Regions from separate parts of the Homo sapiens genome. Here regions 1, 3 and 4 are each linked to region 2. The links are contacts of gene promoters, found by promoter capture Hi-C in blood cells and fetal thymus (Javierre and others, 2016). All regions are on one chromosome and are shown on one strand. Each heading gives the region's core, a stretch centred on a gene start or on the middle of the fragment in contact. The rest is flanking DNA. Distances are from core to core; before and after follow the strand shown. Region 1 has its middle 330 kb from the start of PRORY. Region 2 holds the start of EIF1AY (eukaryotic translation initiation factor 1A Y-linked). Region 3 has its middle 150 kb from the start of KDM5D. Region 4 overlaps LOC105377225 (a long non-coding RNA gene).

Region 1 (3,483 bases), core at 739-3,238, 540 kb before region 2:
ATTTCAGCTGGGTGTGATGGCTCACACCTGTAATCCCGGCATTTGAGAGGCCAAGGTGGGTGGATCACAATATCAGGAGATTGAGGCCATCCTGAATAGCATGATGAAAGCCTGTCTCTACTGAAAAAAAAAAAAAATTAGCCGGGCTTGGTGGCAGGTGCATGTAGTCCCAGCCACTCAGGAGGCTGAGGCAGGAGAATGGCATGAAACTGGGAGGCAGAGATTGCAATGAACCAAGATCATGCCACTGCACTCCAGCCTAGGCGACAGAGCAAGACTCCATCTCAGAAAAACTTTCCTCTCATTCCTTAGTATTTCAATCACTGTGGCACTCTACTGAGTTTCTAAACATATGGAATAGGTGTTGGGCTCTTCTATAAAGGAGCAGAGAAACATGCTGGACCTATTTACCTATGTATTGATTATCAGGGCCTGGTGCATTTGTGAAAAAAGACAAGAAGTTACATACAGGAAAATACTTAGTAGGATATAGAGAGTCATGTCTTTGCAGTAAAACATTACCACAAACTTGGTGGCAGACAACAACATAAAATGTATTTTCTTACAGTTCTGTATGAAAAAAAATTCACACATCATTATCCCAGGGTGGAAATCAAGGTGCTGGCATGACTGTGCTCCTTTCAGAGGCTCTAGGAAAGAATTCATTCCATTTCTCTTTACCATCTTGTGCCTGTTGCCATTCCTTGGCTTGTGGCTGCATACTTCAGCTTTGGGTATTATTTTTACATCACTTTTTCTCTGTGTTTGTGTTATGTGAGCCCCTATGTCTCTCTTTTATAAGTGACATGAAATAGGGGAAGAGAAGTTCTGGGTAAAGAAGGGTGGGTATCTGGTGAGGGCTCTAGCTCTGAGGCTATGCCCATTGACCTAGGTGAAAACAAGAAATCTTGCCTTTGCTCCCAAATGTTACATTTCTCAAGACCTCTCTGGCCCACCATGCCCCCATCCTGTGCCTGTAAAAACCCTGAAACCCTAGCAGGCAGAGATGTACAAGTGGCTGGACATCAACAGAAACACACCAGTGGAGGAACACACAAGTGAATAGATATTGAGAGGACATTGACAGCACACTGACAGGCATTGGCATGCCAGAATGCCATCAAACATTAGAACAATGTGAAGTTTGGCCCAGGTAGTAGGAGATTCTGGGTCTCTGAACGGCGAGACTCCTGGGAAAACCTTTCCACTCCATCGTCTTCTGGCATTCCCCATCTGCTGAGAGCTACCTCCACTCAATAAAACCTTGCACTCATTCTCCAAGTCCAGGTGTGATTCAATTCTTCTGGTACACCAAGATGAGAACCTGAGATACAGAAAGCCCTCTGTCCTTGTGACAAGGTAGAGGGTCTAAGTGAGCTGGTCAACACAAACTACCAACACAAGTTACCAATAGATGGCAAAACTGAAAATTTACATAGTAGCACATGCTCACTGGGGCTTCAGGAGCTGTAAAAATTCAACCCTAGATGCTGCTGTGGGGTCAGAATTCCACAACTGGTTCATCTGTATGCTCCCTTAGAGATATGAGCAGTGGGGGCACTGAAGAAGTGAGCACTCCCCCTGTCACATGCCCTGTGTGTGGGACAAGGGAATCTTTTCTCTTTCACAAGAAAAGTCATTGTGGCATCCAGGGTACACATGGATAATCCAGGATAATCTTGCATTTCAAGATTCTTCATTGTAACTGTAAAGACCTTTTAGCAATAAGGAACCATTACAGGGAGAAAGAGTAAAAAGTTAATATCTTTGGAGGGCCCATTTTTCAAACTATCTCACAGGATTTGAAATAAAAATTTCTGGATAAGAAGAGAGATCTAGTCAAAGTCTTTAACATTATTTCAGAAATTCAGGGTTGGGTGCAGTGGCACAGGCCTGTAATTTCAGCACTGTGGGAGGCCAAGGTGGGTGGATTACTTGAGGTCCGGAGTTTAGGACAAGCCTGGCAAACATTATGAAACCTTGTCTCCATGAAAAAAATAGAAAAATTAGGCATGGTCATTCATGCCTGTAGTCTCAGCTACCCAGGAGGCTGAGGTGGAAACTTGCTTGGAACCAGAAGGCAGAAGTTGCGGTGAGCTGAGATCATGCTACTGCACTCCAGAATGGGTGACAAAGCAAGAGCCTGTCTCAAAAACAAAACAAAACAAAAAACAAATAAAAAGGCTAACACATGTAAAAATATGTTTAACATCAGTAATCCTAATCATCAAGGAAACACAAATTAAAACTATAGTGAGATATCACCTCATGTCTGTTAGAAAGACTATGATTAAAAACACACACAAATAATAACATGTTGGTGACAATGTGGAGGAAAGAAAACCCTTGTACTCTTGGTGGGAATATAAATTAGTGCAGCCACAGTGGAAAGCTGTATAGACATATCTCAATAAATTAAAAATAGAACTATAATATAATCCAGCAATGTCCTTATTAGATATCTCCAAAGGCTAATGATATCAATATGTGGAAAATATATCTGCTGTCTCATGTTCATTGTAGCATTATTCACAATAGCCAAAATACAGAATCAACCTATGTAATACTCTTCAACCCTAAAATATAAGAAATACTCTTCAACCTTAAAATATGAGAAAATCTTGCCATTTTTTACAATGTGATGAACAAAAAAGGAGGTTATATTAAGTAAAGTAAGCAAGGTACAGAAAGATAAATATTACATGATATCACTTATATGTAGACTGAAAAGTTTGAGCTTGTAGAAGTAGAGAGTAAAGCAGTGGTTACCAGAGGCTGGGAGAGATGGGTGGGGAGAAGAATGGGAAGGAGTTCATCAAAGTTTCAGTTAGTCAGTGCAGATGAGTTTTAGAGATCTATTGCATAGTATAGTGACTATAGTGAGGAACATATATTTCAAAATAGCTAAAATAATAGATTTTAAATGTTTTTACCCAATTAGCCTGATTTATTCATTTAACAACATATATAGAGAGATGTGTGTATATACACAGAGAGAGAGAAAGAGAGAGGGCAAAACATGGTATTATACCTTAACCTTGTATACAATTTTTCGTGCATTAACATTTTTAGTTTTAAAATGCAAAAATTTTAAAGTAAAATTCTGGTTACCAGAGGCCTAGGATGGGGGAGAAGTGGGGAAATGCTGATCAAACAACATATAATTGTTAAGTTAGGCAGAATGAATAAGCTCAAGAGATCTATCATAGAACATGATGACTATAGTAAAAAATAACAAATTATATGCTTAAAAATTGCTAAGAAAAAACATAATTCAACAATACATTTAAAAGATTGTTCATCATGACAAAGTGAGATTTATCCAATGGATGCAAGGATTCTTCAACATATGCAAATCAGTCAATGTGATAAATCTTACCAACAAGATGAAAAACAACCCCCCAAAATTATACAATCTTTTCAATTGATTCTGAAAATTATTTGATGAAGTGCATTATCTGTTTATGACTAAGATCCTCAAAA
Region 2 (3,150 bases), core at 417-2,916:
CATGTAACAGAATCCACTTTAAATTATATTTTAGAGGAATGAGGCTAGGCATGATCATACAAAAATTAAAGTCGTTTAATATTTTATCTCGTTTCCTTTCTAAGATCAAAAAATCCACACTTCCTCTTTAAACAAATCCGACGTGTTTTGGAGATACTCTCTTTATTGAGAACATTTTTAGGCATCACTCAGTTTAAAAGTTCTACCCTACAAGAATAAAGGAAGCCTTACTATTTAAGGATAGAGTCAGGTACAGGGATAATAACATCAGCAAAGATTTAATGGACATTTTGCAAAGGGAGATACTCTGATCTTTAGAGCTGATGGCTTAGAGAACTGGGAATCTCATCACTAGAAATAAAGGTGAGAACAAGATACCTACTGAAGTTGTTCAGTACCATCTGAGAAAATGTTAGTGAAAAAGCATAAGCCTTTGCTAACTCTTTCTAATTAGACTTCTCCCAGAATACACTTTATCCTCCAATAATTTTGCAGTAAAAAATAAAATAAAATAAAATAAAACCTTATTATACACACAACCCGTTAGTGGGTTTTCGGGAGAGCAAAGAGTAATGCCCAGGAAAGACTGCACTGTACTGTCACCAAGTACCTCAAGAGCTGTGTGTCGTGACAGCTAAAAAGAGAAAATGAAACAGATTCCATGCTGCCAACAGGCAAGTAAAAAGAAGACAAATTGGTCTGGGTCCCAGGAAGGAATAATCTAAACAGAGTTTTTGTGGACTATAAAACATGGTCCCCTCCTGTGGAAAATAATATTTTGTTTCCACCTACAGTTTTCTTCAAGCAATTACAAGGGCACTAAAAGTGAGAGATTACCTCAGGTGTATAAAAACGAGAATTTCTTTCAGAAATGACTGAGAAAGGGTTCTACCGAGGTTAGACCTCCTACTTTAGAAGCTGTGAGTAAACTTATTTTCAAGTCTAAGTTTCGTGTGAAAGTTTAGCCTCAGAATGAAGGGAACGTTGATATCTTTACTCCCACAATATTTATCGGATACGGAAGTTGAAAACCTGCCTAAATAGGTAACAAATCTTCTGCAAAAGAATGTTACACTCTATAAAGGGATGGGGTAGAGTAAAACGCCAGAAATGAACCTAAACATGCTTCAAGGCTTCCCCACTGTTTAACAAGGAAAAGGGAGTATCCTTAGCAATACTTTTAACTGTCCAGATAGGTAAGTCTTCAAAGTTAAGAACCGCTTCCAGGAAAGTAGCAGGGAAGTGTTTGCATGTGCCTATTCTGGAAAGCCAGGCCGTCCGGTTAAGGTCCCTCAACCGTCCCTACCTATACGTTTTCCGTCTGGCGTGAAATCAGCAGCAAAAGCCCGCTATCTTCCGAAGGAGGCCCCACAAAAATGGCGTCTGTCCCACCCCAATGTGACCAAATAGGGCATTCCCAGCTCCTTTCCCGAACACAGTGCTGGGGTCGCAGTGGCCAGTACCGCCGTTAGAACAGTCACTGCGGCCTGGAACAGGCGTCGGGGTTACTGGCAGAGCAAGCCGAGGTATAGTCCCAGAGGCTTACAGCAGTACCTTTATTCTTGGGCATGGCGGTGATGACAGCCTCGTGAGACCTCTTCCGACTCCTTTCTGGCGGTTACTACTCTAAGAGCCGACTGAACTAAGATGCAGCAGGTGGGTGCGCAGAAGAGGCTGGCTACAGAGCTCTCTAATAAACTGCTGACGCGCACTCTCTGGCGTCACCAAAAGGCGACGCAGCTGATTACGATGCTTTTCCCCGCCTCTCTTCGGCTGAGGCACGGCCAAATGACTGACACCTAGTAGACTCCATCAGGATACCGGAGAGTTTGCTGCAGGATGAATAAACAGGAAGCGGGGCGGGACTCAGCATGGAGAAGGTGGAGTCAAGGATGAAATGGGCGGGGCCCTGGAGTATTCTCCTTTGCTAAAAAACGGTCTTCCAGTTTCAGAAGTTCGTGGGTCATTTAACTGTAAACGCCTAAATTTTAAGAGAGCCCTTACTCTTATACAGTGAATTTGGAGGACTGGCTTAGGACAAGGCCCTCTATGTTCAGAATGTTTATCACTTTTCTCTCTTTTTTTTTTTTTTTTTTGACAACGAAGTTTCGCTCTTGTTGCCCATGCTGGAGTGCAGGGGCGCGATCTGCCCGTCTAATTTTTGTATTTTTAGTAGAGATGGGGTTTCACCATGTTGGCCAGGCTCTCAAACCCCTGACCTAGTGATCCTCCCGCCTCTGCCGCCCAAATTCCTGGGATTGCAGTAGTGAGCCACCGCGCCCGGCCTATTTTTTTCAGTCTTATCTTCTCTACCTCACCACCTCACAGTAAAGCATGTAAGTACAGAGGCCGCATCTGTTGCTTACAATTGCTAGCACCCAGCGGAATACTGACAAAAAGTAGACAGTAAATATATACAGGAAATGGAAAGTAAATATACATAGGAAGGAGTGAGACTAAGCATCTGAATCTTATAATAAATCATGGCTTAACCGAATGTCTCAAATGGACTGGCTGTGGAGGTCAAATTATTTCAAGACAAATTCCATTTGATTATGGTATACAATCATTTAATTTACTGGATTTGTTGTGTGTGTACTATTATGTTTAGAATCTTAGCATCTGTGTTAAGATATATTGGCTTGTATCGTGTGATGACTTTGACTTTAGGATCAATATAATCCCGGCTTCACAGAATGAACTGTGTAGTGTCCCTTTTTCTTCTGTGTTTTTGGACACATTCGAGGATTGATGTAAATTTTTTAAATGGTCCTAGGCCTTAGTTTGGATTATGAATTCGTGCTGTATTTATTCCCAAGTCAGTTCTGGTAGTTTGTATGTACCAGAAATTTGTTCATTTATTCTAAATTATAAAACTTGTTGGGCGTATAATTGGCCATCATATACAAAGTATAGTATCTTCCTAATCCTTTTTTTTCCCTTTCTGCAAGGTAAATAGTATGTATGTATCAGGACTTTGTTCATTTATTCTAAATTATCTTACTTGTTGGGCATATAATTGGCCATCATATACATAGTGTAGTATCCTCCTAATCCTTTTTTTTTCTTTCTTTTTTTCTGCAAGGTAAGTGGTAGTACCCTGATCATCACTACTGGTTTTAAGGAATTTAAGTCTTCATGGTTTTGTTT
Region 3 (3,486 bases), core at 416-2,915, 980 kb after region 2:
CTATAATTAAATATAAGTAAGATGCTGCTCCACAGTTAGTTTCTTCCACATTATTTTCCCAAAAGTCATCCTCACTGGTTAGGCAGTATACCATCCTACATCAGCCTGAAGATCTTACAGCCTACTTTCTGAGTTACACTTTCAATTTTATAAGAGGGAAGGGACAAACTAAATCATTATTTTACAAAGTTTACTTTCAAAGTCTTACTAGGATACAAGTGTCAACAGACCTTTACCTAAACAGTTATCAGTACAGTCTAAATATTGACAGTGCTATCTACTTTTATTATATTTAAATCCAAGATTTCAAAAGCAAGAAAAATAAATACAAACCTTACAAGTAAGAACCTATTTCACAAGCTGTCCTATGTTCTTGAGTTTACTGTGATGAGGGTGATCCAGCACCATCAAAATAATACTCCAACCATACACCCCCTAGCAATACCACAAAGTCAGACAAATTCCTCTGATGGATGGCAGATTCTTTCCAGGATCTCTGCTTTTTACTTCCATTATTGAGACAAGCTGTCATACTTAATCCTTCTTCTGTTATAATCAGCCTAGCTGTAAGTAATATTCTAAAGTATTTAGCAACCAAATAGCCAAAGATGGCAGAATGTAGTTTAACAATCTATCCTATTAACTTTTATAGTAGAGCTCTACAGTGTGTTTTTCTTTCTCAAACTCACACTGACTATGGCTACCAGTTTCTTCATTTCAGCTAAGATTTTCACTCATTACCAAAAAAGGACATGATAACCAACTACACCAAAAGCCAACAAAAATATCTGGCAACTGTGAGCTTTTTAAGCAGGAGAGCTGTGAACATAAAAACCAATGTCATCTAGATTCCCTGTGATCAAGTATACAGTAGACTAAGGTAGAGCTTATCCTTGAATCTGAAACCAAAATTTACATAGAGTGAGTCTTTAGAGAGTTACCTCACAGGCAGCATCAGCTCAAGCAAAACAAAAAGCAAGGGATCTCTGTGTTAAGATGTCTACAAAGTTGTCTGCTTAGGAATCTGATCTACCAGCACAAGTGTACCTGAGCCAGTTAACAAGAAGCCATTATAGCAACTAATTCCCATTAAAAGACATAGAGCAAGAATTTATTTCAAGTAGTTACAAGGCGATTATAAAAGCAGCCTAAGTAGTTCCTGAAATACAGTAAAATAAACCAACTAACCTTTAATGTCTTATTTTGACATTAATTTTGCTGAAGTTCCCTGCAAAGAGATTCTAGCTTGCTTCTTGCCAAGATGGTCTTGCTGTATTCACTCTGCAAGTGAACTTTCTCTTTGACAATCTGAGCTTGCTTATTCTGCAGAATCTTCATTTGCCTCTGAACATTCCTGCTTTCCTCCAGCTAAAATTAATAACCACTTTACATTTAGGAAGTATAGTAATCTGAGTTATAGCTCTAAGCACTGCAATTACAGCCATGGAACATTTTATGTTCCCCTCTTTTCTAGTGACAGGAAAGTATGTAAATAATTTTGTGTAGCAAGAAAAGCAATCTTAATCTCCATTTTTTATTAATAGGAAAAAGTAACCTTTTAATCAAAAGCTTATTTCAGACTAAAATGATATAGTTTTCCTATTCTACAAGAGCTACTTTATTGAAACAGCTACCAAAATTAGAACACAATAAGCAGTGCTCAAGATTCATCAGTCAAGTCAGTTTCAGATTTATAATAAATGATTCCAAATTATACTACTAGATAACATAGTGGTCATCCTAATTCTTGAGTAAAGCTTTTATGAAAAATAAAAAATTGACGAAGCAAACATTTCAAGAGAGAATGAAATATCAAGAAACCTATCAAACATCCTTGCAGGCAATATTCTTATAGGTATTAAAAACACCTTTATTGGCCAGGGATGGTGGCTCATAACTGTAATCTCACTCAACACTCTGGGAAGTTGAGGTGGGAGGATCACTTGAGCCCAGGAGTTCATGACTCCATTTCTACAAAAATTTTTTTAAAATTAGCCATGCATGCTTGTGCATGTCTGTAGTGCCAGGTACTCAGGAGGCCGATACAGGAGAATTGTTTGAGCCTAGGAGTTCAAGACTGTAGTGAACTGTGACTGAACCATGGTATACCAGCCTTAGCGACAGTGCAAGACTCTGACTAAAATAAATTAATTAAATAAATAAATAATGCAGTATTTCAGTCACTTCCACCTCTACTGTGGCCAATTTTACAAAGTGCGTTTTCAGATCTACTAAATCCAAATCTTCAATTTGACAATTCTTGTGTGATTTCTATGTGTTTGAGGACCACCCTAGATGACCATGCTACAGTATGCAACCAAATTGCTCTTTCTTCCCCAACCCTTTCATGGCTGACAGCTAGGAAATCTCCTAACCTTCTAGTACACTGCTTTTTCTACCAGAAATTCAATGCTTTTGTCAGTCTTTCTTTTATCTTCTTTGTTGCTGTCTTCTTTTTCTGGCATTTCTCGCATGAGTTTCCTCAGGCTGATGTAACAATTGAGACTGGCTTCCATATCCAATGGAAGCATTCCTTTCCTGAACATAGCAAGCAACAATTTTATTTTCTGCTGTCTTTGCTTTTGGACAGTTCTAAGCTATTTACATTTATGCTCAGGGATTCCTGCTTCTCAAAATATCAGAAGGTGCCAGGCTGCTGCTAAGTATGTGGCACTTGAAGATGCCAGCTAAGTGGAGGTAAATATGGACCACATGAGAGAATAGTAACTATTATTGTTACAGCTTTATTCTTGGAGTTGATTATTAACTAAATATTTGTTTTGTGCATTTACAACATGGAGTTGCTGCTTTAACACTATTTGAAAGTGTACAAAAACTGTCAGTGATAATTCCCATAAATGTTTCACAAAACAGAATTTTAGCATTTATTTAATTATAAAAATTTCCCATGATTCTTCAAAAAGTTCTGTATCTTTTCCATTATTTGCTTTACAAAGTCTAGTAGGGTTTCCCTGTTGAGAATGTTTCCATAGTCTCCAAAAAAAGAATTTTGTTTCAAATCGTATAGTTCAAAACAAACTCTTCTATAGAAGAGGTGAATTTCCCTGGAAGATGGAAAAAAGAACAATGCTTGGCATACAGTAGATATTAAATAAATATTTCCTGAGCCATAGTACAATTTTACTAAACAATCTTATCTAACTCACAATTTTAATCAAGAATGGTTAGAGCTTGAATCTGCAGAATTCCTTCGGAAAATTTTAAATACAGAAACCACTTCCTCCCAATTGTCAGGCATCTTAAGCATACAAAAAAAAAAAACTGCTGATCTAGCATATTAAGTTTTAGGAAATTTATTTCACATTTAAAAAAGTATTATTATGTTCTATACATCATTTCATAAGATGAAGTCACACACACCAATCATAAGTACTAAAGAAAGGAGATTGTTTTCAATTTTGAGATAAAATATCATTTTACATTTAAAGTTACATCAAAATAATATTTAAAAATCTTATCAAGCAC
Region 4 (3,261 bases), core at 547-3,046, 570 kb before region 2:
GGAAAATGGAATAGCTGTTGACATGATGTTAGCAGAAAAAGGTGGACTCTGTGTCATGAATGGGGTCAAATGCTGTACTTTTATCCCTAACAACACAGCCCTTGATGGAACAATTACAATGGCCTTACAAGGCCTTATCTCCTTGTCAGATGAGTTAGCCAAAAATTCTGGAAGAAATGACCCCTTCACAAACCTCATCAAAAGGAGATTCGGTAAATGGAAAGGGCTTATGTCTTCAATATTAACCTGTCTTTTAATTGTCATAAGTGTACTCATTTTTGTAGGATGCTGCATCATACCCTGTATCTGTGAGATAATGTCAAGACTTACAGAAACAGCTCTCACATAACCCTCCCCTATCCCTCTTCCTCAATACTCAGAGAAGCTCTTGTCCCTATATGATCAAGAGGAGAAACAAGGCTAAATCATGCTACAAAAACTTGAAGAGGAAGAATTGTCAAAAGACAAATGGGGAAATTGTTAGGAATGATAATTTCCTCTTCAAAAGGTTTAATTGCGTAATGTTATTTTCCTTTGTTCAAAATCCTAACCTCCTTGTACTCTTGTTTCCAGCCTGCAAACCACCCTCCCACTCCAGTTGCACCCTGCCATGCCCAGACATGTTCAGACATGCCTTGTACTGCAACAAACAGATCCCTCCTACCTGCTTCTTCTCTTACAAATTGTGCATTTGCCCCATTTAGAAAAGTTTAATTCTTAGCCAACCCAAATCAGTTTAGATTGTGCAGTTCAATCCCAGCCAATAAGGGAAGGACACAGGGACAGGAACTGTATTACGGATAAAAATCCCTTCTCTGTTTTATTCGGGGTGCTCTTGCAATTGTGACTGAGGTAGGCAGCAACCTTCTGCAGAAGCAAATTACCTTGCTGGGAAAACTTTTTGCCTGTGTGCTTGTTCTTCTTTGCAGCAGTGAGCACTTGTTTGTAAGGGAGCAAAAGAGATATTTTTAAAACAATAATAAAAAATGCAAACAGGATACTCAGAAATACACTAAATAAAGCAGAGGAAATAAAATAAACACAAAATTTGAGGACAATTTTAAAAAGTGATATTATACACAAACAGAAAAATTAAATATAGAAGAAAGTCCAAGTGACATACAAGAGAACATAAAGATATTCAAATATTGGGGATAAAAAACATAAAATCTTATTTAATAATATTATAACTAAAAGCAGTCCAAATACTGGAGAAAATGTAGACATACAGATATGGAAAGCTCCAGAAATCACAAATAAATTTAACCACAAAACATTTATCTTGATGTGAATTATAGTCTAACCATCCAGCAAAAGACAACACATTTTTAAAACACAAAAGAAGTGTCAAGTCAAATATAAGAACTTCCCTTATTGAACTAAGACCTAATTTTTCAGCAGAAAATTTAAAGGGAAGAACATAAAGGAAAGGTATTACCAAGAAGCTGAGTGAAAAAAAAAATCAACTTAGAATTCTACACATTGCAAAACTATCATTCAGAAATAAAAATAAATGAAGTATTTTCTGCTAGAAATTTAGAAAGAATTCCTGCATCTGAAGTAAATGGTCTACATCTACCATTATGGAAATACTTTAAACTAACACTTCTTAGAAGAAAAGATACAGAAGTGAGAAATAAAAAATGAATCACATTTTATCACTATGGACAAACACAACATTCCAAAGATAAGCATTAAAAATGGTATACAAAGACATACAAAAATATCAAAAACTTAACAAGATGATAGAATAAAGCCACACCTATCAAAAAGTATTTTAAATGTAAATGGCTTAACTTCCACCATTAAAAGAAAAGATTGGCTACAGTATATAGTTGCTTCTTCTATTTTAAAAAGTCACAATAAGGACAAATTTCTTAATTTTAAATGCTACATATTTTCAGAGCTTTTTTGAATTAATGTGAAACCCACAGCTCATTACTTAATAATCACTGAGTATACATATATTTCAAATACACAGAATTCCTGAGAAATAAATCAGCTTAGTGGGCCAGATACTACCATTGTAAAGTCTATTTGCTATGAAAAATCTATTTCAGTGAAAAGAGAACTGCCCAACTATTCCTATAAAACACGGTTGCTGTCTCACCAAAGCACCTTAATGTAGGATTTTCTCTTTGTCTCTATTAGTACCCCAGGTTTTTGTCCTACATCCAGGAAACTTAGGGAACATTGACACAAAGATAGGGTTGGAGTGAAAGTTTGATAAGTGAAATAAATGAAGCTCTTCACAGCAGATAAGGGAGTCCAAGTGAATTGCCAGATACAGCTGCATTCAAAAACTTTCATAAGATATGCCTCTCATCTCTGTAGCAGTTTGAGTAACTTCTTTTACCAGTTAAGTTCTCTGTGCCACTCCCCTTATCTTATGCAGCTGTGGAAATATCTCTAGGCAAACACAAAGCACCACTTCTTTTGTTTGTATAACTATTGGTTTGTTTTCAATTAGCCTGCCTCCTCACTGTGCAATTTACCACTATGTATGTGCTTGAAAAGGGGAGGAAACATTTTCCTGGGAGTTTGCTAATTATATAAAGTTTCTTATCTGTTGCAGGTACAGCTCATGTTTTTCCAGAATTATCTTTCTTTTCTTCTACCTCATTCTCCTTTTAGGAGTGGAAACTCTAACTGCTGTTGGGGAGATTGGATATTGATTTCTGAGTAATTCCAGCCGAAGAGGGGTGTTGTGTGGGAAAACAGCAGCTAAGACTCCTTCAGGGGCTGATTTAAGGTGCCTCAAATAAAAGGCTTGTTGATGTCTCATTTTATTTGCATTACCATTTGGAGCTTGATAGCCTCCAGGTGAAAAAAAAAAAAAAATTGGTCGGGTGCGGTGGCTTACTTCTGTAATCCCTGCACTTTTAGAAGCCTAGGCAGGCAGATCATCTGAGATCAGGAGTTCAAGACCAGCTTGACCAATATAGTGAAACCCTATCTCTACTAAAAATACAAAAAAATTAGCCAGATGTGGTGGCATGTGCCTTTAGTCCCAGCAACTTGGATGGCTGAGACAGGAGAATTGCTTGAACTCAGGAGGCAGAGGTTGCAGTGAGCCGAGGTCATGCCACTCCACTCCAGCTAGGGTGACAGAGCAAGGCTCTGTCAAAAAAAAAAAAAAAGAAAGAAAGAAGGAAGGAAGGAAAGGAAGGAAGGAAGGAAGGAAGGAAGGAAGGAAGGAAGGAAGGAAAGAAAGAAAGAAAGAAAGAAAGAAAGAAAGAAAGAAAGAAAGAAAGAAAGAAA

Evidence for each region. Contacts are between HindIII fragments. The CHiCAGO score rates a contact against its expected background, and 5 or more counts as called.
Region 1: a contact is called between a fragment that was not itself captured here and the fragment with the promoter of EIF1AY in region 2, in 1 of 17 cell types (neutrophils). The highest score is 5.3, in neutrophils.
Region 3: a fragment that was not itself captured here is called in contact with the fragment with the promoter of EIF1AY in region 2 in 1 of 17 cell types (fetal thymus); the score reaches 5.7 in fetal thymus.
Region 4: a fragment that was not itself captured here is called in contact with the fragment with the promoter of EIF1AY in region 2 in 1 of 17 cell types (neutrophils); the score reaches 5.5 in neutrophils.

Annotation. Positions count from the first base shown.
Region 1 is chrY:21,116,130-21,119,612 of GRCh38, reverse strand. No RefSeq gene overlaps it. Among named protein-coding and RNA genes, the nearest start is that of PRORY, 330 kb to the left of the region's middle. The HindIII fragment of the contact is 6,496 bases long and covers 1-3,483 here.
Region 2 is chrY:20,574,292-20,577,441 of GRCh38, reverse strand. It overlaps EIF1AY (eukaryotic translation initiation factor 1A Y-linked), which reads right to left and starts at 1,666. Exons shown (of 7, transcript NM_004681.4): 1 at 1,555-1,666. The coding sequence starts at 1,570. TTTY10 (testis expressed transcript, Y-linked 10) reads left to right here and starts at 1,927. Exons shown (of 10, transcript NR_197944.1): 1 at 1,927-2,336. The HindIII fragment of the contact is 11,947 bases long and covers 1-3,150 here.
Region 3 is chrY:19,589,662-19,593,147 of GRCh38, reverse strand. It overlaps the pseudogene TXLNGY. Among named protein-coding and RNA genes, the nearest start is that of KDM5D, 150 kb to the left of the region's middle. The HindIII fragment of the contact is 188 bases long and covers 1,572-1,759 here.
Region 4 is chrY:21,149,266-21,152,526 of GRCh38, reverse strand. It overlaps LOC105377225 (a long non-coding RNA gene), which reads right to left. Exons shown (of 7, transcript XR_007068465.1): 5 at 885-938. Among named protein-coding and RNA genes, the nearest start is that of PRORY, 300 kb to the left of the region's middle. The HindIII fragment of the contact is 3,974 bases long and covers 1-3,261 here.